Linked DNA regions of Homo sapiens: region 2 is linked to region 1. Evidence: promoter capture Hi-C in 16 types of primary human blood cells and fetal thymus (Javierre and others, 2016). All regions are on one chromosome and are shown on one strand. The core of a region is centred on a gene start or on the middle of the fragment in contact, and the rest is flanking DNA. Distances in the headings are between cores, read along the strand shown. Region 1 holds the start of SLC26A6 (solute carrier family 26 member 6). Region 2 overlaps ATRIP (ATR interacting protein).

Region 1 (2,700 bases), core at 147-2,646:
GTCCAGCTCCTCAAGCAACTCCTTTCCCAAGCCTCAGGCCTCAGATGAGACCCTCCCCTCTAAGGGAAGGAAAGTGTTGGAGCCAAGCTTGCCCCTGGGCCTCCAGCCCCAGGGTCCAGGTTGTAGACGGCTCAGGCCTGTTATGGGGAAGCCAAGGACTGGCTCTCACCTGAGAAGGAGCTTGCTCTTGGAGTGGCAATCTCTCACCTAGAGGGAGAGGCTCCCACATGGAAAGGGAAGTACCCACTTGAAGTGGGGGAAAGAGCTCACCTGGGAATAGAAGCTTTCAAGGGGAATCTCACCTAGAGGGATCTCTGACCTACCAGGGAATCTTTATCAGCCTGGCAAGTTCTGATACAGGGGGAATCTTCCCTCTGCCCAGAGGCACCTACTTGAAGTCAGAGAAAGATCTCACATGGGAAGAAAAGACCTAGAGGGAGAGGGTTCTCACCTGGGGGGTACTCTCCCATAGAGAAAGCTCTGACCTCGGGCGAGGCTCCCACGTGGAATGGGGAAAAGCTGTCACCTGGGAATAGATCTCACAGAAGGATCTTACCTGGGGGAAAACTCTAGCCTGTTGGGGAAGCTTTCACCAGTCAGGAAAGTTCTGATCTAGGAAAAGCCCTGACCTGGGGAGAGGATCCCATTTGAGGGACAGGAACTCACCTGGGAAGCGCCTCTAACCTGGCTGTACTGTTGGAGGAGTGTGGAGTGGGTGCAAGGAAGATCCTCAGAGACTCTTGGGACCGCTATCTCAAGGAGATCGTAGAGCCCCCTCTCCTTTCCTACGTGAGTCACTCAGGTCTTCTTAAAGGGCTCCCTCCCCCGACAACTTGGGACCCGCGTTTGGAGGGCGGAGCCTTGATCATTGGCCCCTCCCTGTAGGAAGGCAACTGGGGCCAGAAAGGCCGGAGCGCTCACTCCGGGATCAGTGGAGCTGGGTGGACTCGGGACTCAGCTGAAAGCAGCTAGTCCACGGGCCGCTGCCAGGGACTCCCGTGCCCCACGCACCCCCGCCGGCACATCTCCTGGCCGGGCTCCTCCGCACGCAGCTGCCTCCCTGTGGCCCGGGATGGCCCTCGGGCGTCACACCAGCGGCTTTCCGCACAGCCCAAGGGACTGGGGTCGCGCCGGCTCCCGCCCCCACCCCTTGCTGCAGAGGGGCAGCCGCCTGCAGAAAATCAGCAGAGGTAAACCGAGGCGTCGCAAGCGGAGAATGCCTGCTCCAGCGAGGCGTCGCAAGCGGAGAATGCCTGCTCCAGCGAGGCGCTCGCGCGGGGCCACCGGGAATGTGCGCTGAACTCACCCCGACGCATCCGCCAGCCCCATGGCTCGCAAGTTGTCCGGTGCGGGCTGCTCCTGCTGCTCGAGCTAGAGGCCGCTACGCTCCGGAAGGCGGCGCCGGGACCGGGTGAGGCCAGCTGCGCTCTCCCGGGGGCTAATCCCGGGGCAGGACGGGGAGGCTTGGGCCAATCAGCGCGCTGGGGCGGGGCCTAAGTGGCGCGCGCCGGGCGGGGAGAGACTGGAGAAGGAGGATTTAACCGCTTCCTCCCCGGCGACCTGGCCTATGAGGCCTCTCGCTGCTCGCCCGGCCCTCTGCCCGGAGCTGGATGGGACTGCAGAACTGGAACTAAGCACCCGCGCCGGGCTGGCCGCAGTCGCGCCCCCAGGCCCTGAGTAGGTTGGAGCTGATCCCAGGTCCTGGCTCGGCGGAAGGTGCTCACGGAGTGGGAAAAGGAAACTCCACTGGCCGGTGACCCCAGCCTTAACTCGTAGGGGATCCAGGTCTGTGGGGCCTCTCTTGCCTTCAGCTGAGAGCGCCACCCGCAGGCTTTCTGCGACTACGCATCTCTTTGAGACCCGGAGCCAACGGTCCCCAAGTCCTCCCCTTTAACTCTGGCCACCCAGGCCAGAAATGGTTGGAGGATCCCCTCCGCTGCACTAAGCACAGCCCGGACGTAGCTCCCAGAAGGTTACTGCGCGGGCCGCCGAGGAGAATGGTGGGGGTCAGTGCTGTTGGGTGGGCGTCAGTGCTGTTGGGTGGGCAAGGCAGGAACTGCAAGAGCAGTTCCTCAGGTTGGTTTCACCGCAGGTGAGGGCAAAAAATGCCGGGTCAGGGCTGCAGACCCTGAAGAATTAGGAAGTCCTGTTGCCGTTGCCTTGACCAGCGGGGAGGTTTTCCTTAGCACCTTATTTTCAGCACCTGTGCTCCAACATCAGGCCCCAATTACAAAGTGAGGGGCCAGATTTCAAGGTGAAAGAGATCTGCCATGAAATGGGCTAAAAATAGCTGGATATTCTTGGGAGGGGCTCAGATTCCTCCCAAAGGTCAGTCTGGCTTGAATCATTCACAGCTTCCATCCTACCTCCCCAGCCCCCAACAGGAAAAGGCAACAACTGTTTTCTATAGAAGTTTATTCCCAAAACAGAGCGCGGCTTCACGGAACAATTTACACAGACAGGAAAGAGGGCCGCTGGGCTGGAGGAGGGGAACCCCAGAGAGGGGCATCTACGAAACCTAGGACATAGTAAAGACACCCTCCCACCCCCAGCAGGCCACTCAGCCCTTCAAGAGCTGGGGTCCTTCTCGGTAAGGAGAGTTTGGGTCCTGGCTGGTGGGATTTAGCTCCAGTCAGGGAAGTAGAATTTCTAATCTCCCAGGAAGCTGCTTCCCAAGAGTATGCATGGGGTGGTGGGTGA
Region 2 (2,700 bases), core at 26-2,525, 170 kb before region 1:
GTGGGGCCAAATGGGAGAACCAAGGAAGTGGTTTATTTGATTTAATTCTGCCTCTGAACAACAGGTAAGCAAAAGGCACACATGATTAAAGGAGGCTGCTAACCTCTGTGGAGGAGGGCCCTGCCCCAGGACAAGGGTTAAGACAAGGGGCCTCTGAACCTGAGATGTGGGTAAGGTGAAGACCACACATCACAAGCACGTTGAAGTTTAGTGGTTTCCCTAAGGAAGCAGAGGATGTGGAGAGGGTCTGCAGCCCACGGGCTGACCTTGCTGGGAGTCTCTGCCTGTCATTGTGCCCATCTTTAGCATGCATCTGGGGTGGCCTGTTCTTCTTAAGGTTTGTGGGTAGTATATTATAGTGAACCTAGCGAATGAACACTGTGATCATAAATTCCTCCCTTGGGATTCCAGAGCCGCAAGATTGGGGAGAACTGTGAACACAACCAGCCCACCCCCTCATCCAGTAATCCAGTCTCCCTCAGCACTCTACCAAAGGGTCAGTTTCTATGTTGGAATGATTCCACTGGCTGAATATATCTTAAATCATCTCATCTCTGAGCTCAGCACTGCTGTTTCCTAGATCTGTTTCCATCTGAATATTTTTGGTTGGTCTGGCCCATGCTAAAGGTGGTACTCAGCTGGACACAGCACTGCAGTGTAGTGTGGGCAGTGGGATCAGGCAGACTCAGGACTCAAGTGCCCAGCAGGGGCCCAGCTCATAGTGGCTGTTTTTTTTTGTTGTTGTTTATTTGTTTGTTTTTGTTTTTGTTTTGAGACGAAGTTTTGCTCTTGTTGTCCAAGCTGGAGTGCAGTGGTGCGATCTCGGCTCACTGCAACCTCCACTTCCCAGGTTCAAGCAGTTCTCCTGCCTCAGCCTCCTGAGACGCTGAGATTACAGGCACCTGCCACCACACCTGGCTAATTTTTTATATTTTTAGTAGAGACAGGGTTTCACCATGTTGGCCAGGCTTGTCTCAAATGCCGGACCTCAGGTGATCCACCTGCCTTGGCCTGCCAAAGTGCAAGGATTACAGGCGTGAGCCACCGGGCCCAGCCTTGGTTATTTGTTTAATAATTGTTAAATGAATGAATCCCAGGCTGGGCACAGTGGCTCCTGCCTGTAATCTCAGCACTTTGGGAGGCCAAGGTGGGAGGATCACTTGAGCCCAGGAGTTTGAGACCAGCGTGGGCAACAAAGCAAGACTCCCAGCTCTACAATTTTTTTTTTTTTAATTAGCCAGGCATGGTGGCAGTGAGCTATGACCATGCCACTGCACTCCAGCCTAGGTGACAGAGTGAGACCCTATCTCAAAGAATCCCAGAAACCATGTTTTTACTGGTGGTAGACACACCATTATTCCACTCCTGTTGAGCTTGTCCACAGGGACATTCAAAACACAGCCACAGCTGGGCATTTATCTATTTCATGTACTGGGGCTCTTCATAAAATTTCATTTAAAGAGGTTCTTAGGGGCTGGGCATGGTGGCTCACGCCTGTAATCCCAGCACTTTAGGAAGCCGAGGTGGGTGGATCACGAGGTCAGGAGATCGAGACCATCCTGGCTAACATGGTGAAACCCCGTCTCTACTAAAAATACAAAAAAGTAGCTGGGCGTGGTGGCAGGCACCTGTAGTCCCAGCTACTCGGGAGGCTGAGGCAGGAGAATCGCTTGAACCCTGGAGGCGGAGGTTGCAGTGAGCTGAGTTTGCGCCACTGCACTCCAGCCTGGGTGACAGAGCGAGACTCAGTTTCAAAAAAAAAAAGTTCTTAACGCTATCAAAAAATAACTTGGAAACCACTGTGGTGTACATAAAAGTGGATTTTCCTTGCAGTACCTTCTGCAAGTGGCAGATATTGGACATCTTACAGCCCAATAATGAAACCAGGTAATAACCATGTTAAAATTCCAGCTTCCCACAAAGGGCTGCACACCCTGGCAACTAAAAAGCATTGAACTTTTTGTCTGCTGTGCAGGATTTGCCCTAAAGTGAGTTCACCCCACATAGTGAGACCTTGCTTCCTAAGGACACACTGAGGGATATCTTGACCTTCTGTGCTTAGAAACTGCAGATGTCTGAAGGGGTACACACCTGGCCAGACCCCATAGAGTGTTTCAGAATTGCCCTCCTCCCCACCCACCAGGCCAGTCCATCGTGCTCCCCCAGGCTATGTGGGTTGAGCAAACAGCAGCAGTTGCCTTGGGGCTTGGTTTATTGGGGTAATAGCTTTCCTTTTGCCCCTGAGACCTGGGGCAGTATGCCCAGAACCCCTCCCTCCTGCACACCCCACAGTAGGCACATTCTCCCACTGGCAGCAGATGTGTTTTCTGGCAAGTAGAGAAAATGGCTTTCCTTGCCCTGTGAGAGGTCTCATAAGATCCAGCCATAGCCAAGGCCATGTTTGTCACCTCTGGAGGCCTGGTCAGTCCTTCTGTGGGCACAGAACATTTCTCTCCCACCTAAGTTAGGACCTGCATCCCTGTTTGGGAGCATGTGGAAGCCAGGCATCCCAGATCCAGGAGGTCATCCCACTTCCTGGGCGATGCTACACCAGATAAGGGCCTGTCCTCTCAGCTGCAGCAGTCTTGCAGTGGAAGTGCCCACTTGTTCACATGAAACAAGTTTCATAGCAAGTAAGTAGGGGTCAGGCCAGCACTGAAACCCAAGTCTGGCTGAACCAACTCACCTGTTCATACTGAC

Evidence for each region. The method cuts DNA at HindIII sites, captures the fragments that hold promoters and counts their contacts. A CHiCAGO score of 5 or more calls a contact.
Region 2: a fragment that was not itself captured here is called in contact with the fragment with the promoter of SLC26A6 in region 1 in 4 of 17 cell types (M2 macrophages, M1 macrophages, M0 macrophages and 1 more); the score reaches 9.0 in M2 macrophages.

What each region holds. Positions count from the first base shown.
Region 1 is chr3:48,634,065-48,636,764 of GRCh38, forward strand. It overlaps SLC26A6 (solute carrier family 26 member 6), which reads right to left and starts at 1,397. Exons shown (of 21, transcript NM_022911.3): 1 at 1,307-1,397. The coding sequence starts at 1,329. It overlaps CELSR3 (cadherin EGF LAG seven-pass G-type receptor 3), which reads right to left. Exons shown (of 35, transcript NM_001407.3): 35 at 2,399-2,700. RefSeq lists silencers at 836-935, 1,326-1,605. The HindIII fragment of the contact is 3,939 bases long and covers 585-2,700 here.
Region 2 is chr3:48,460,950-48,463,649 of GRCh38, forward strand. The region is part of intron 8 of ATRIP (ATR interacting protein); the gene reads left to right. It overlaps ATRIP-TREX1 (ATRIP-TREX1 readthrough), which reads left to right. Exons shown (of 15, transcript NR_153405.1): 9 at 412-496. Among named protein-coding and RNA genes, the nearest start is that of TREX1, 3.9 kb to the right of the region's middle. The HindIII fragment of the contact is 4,574 bases long and covers 1-2,700 here.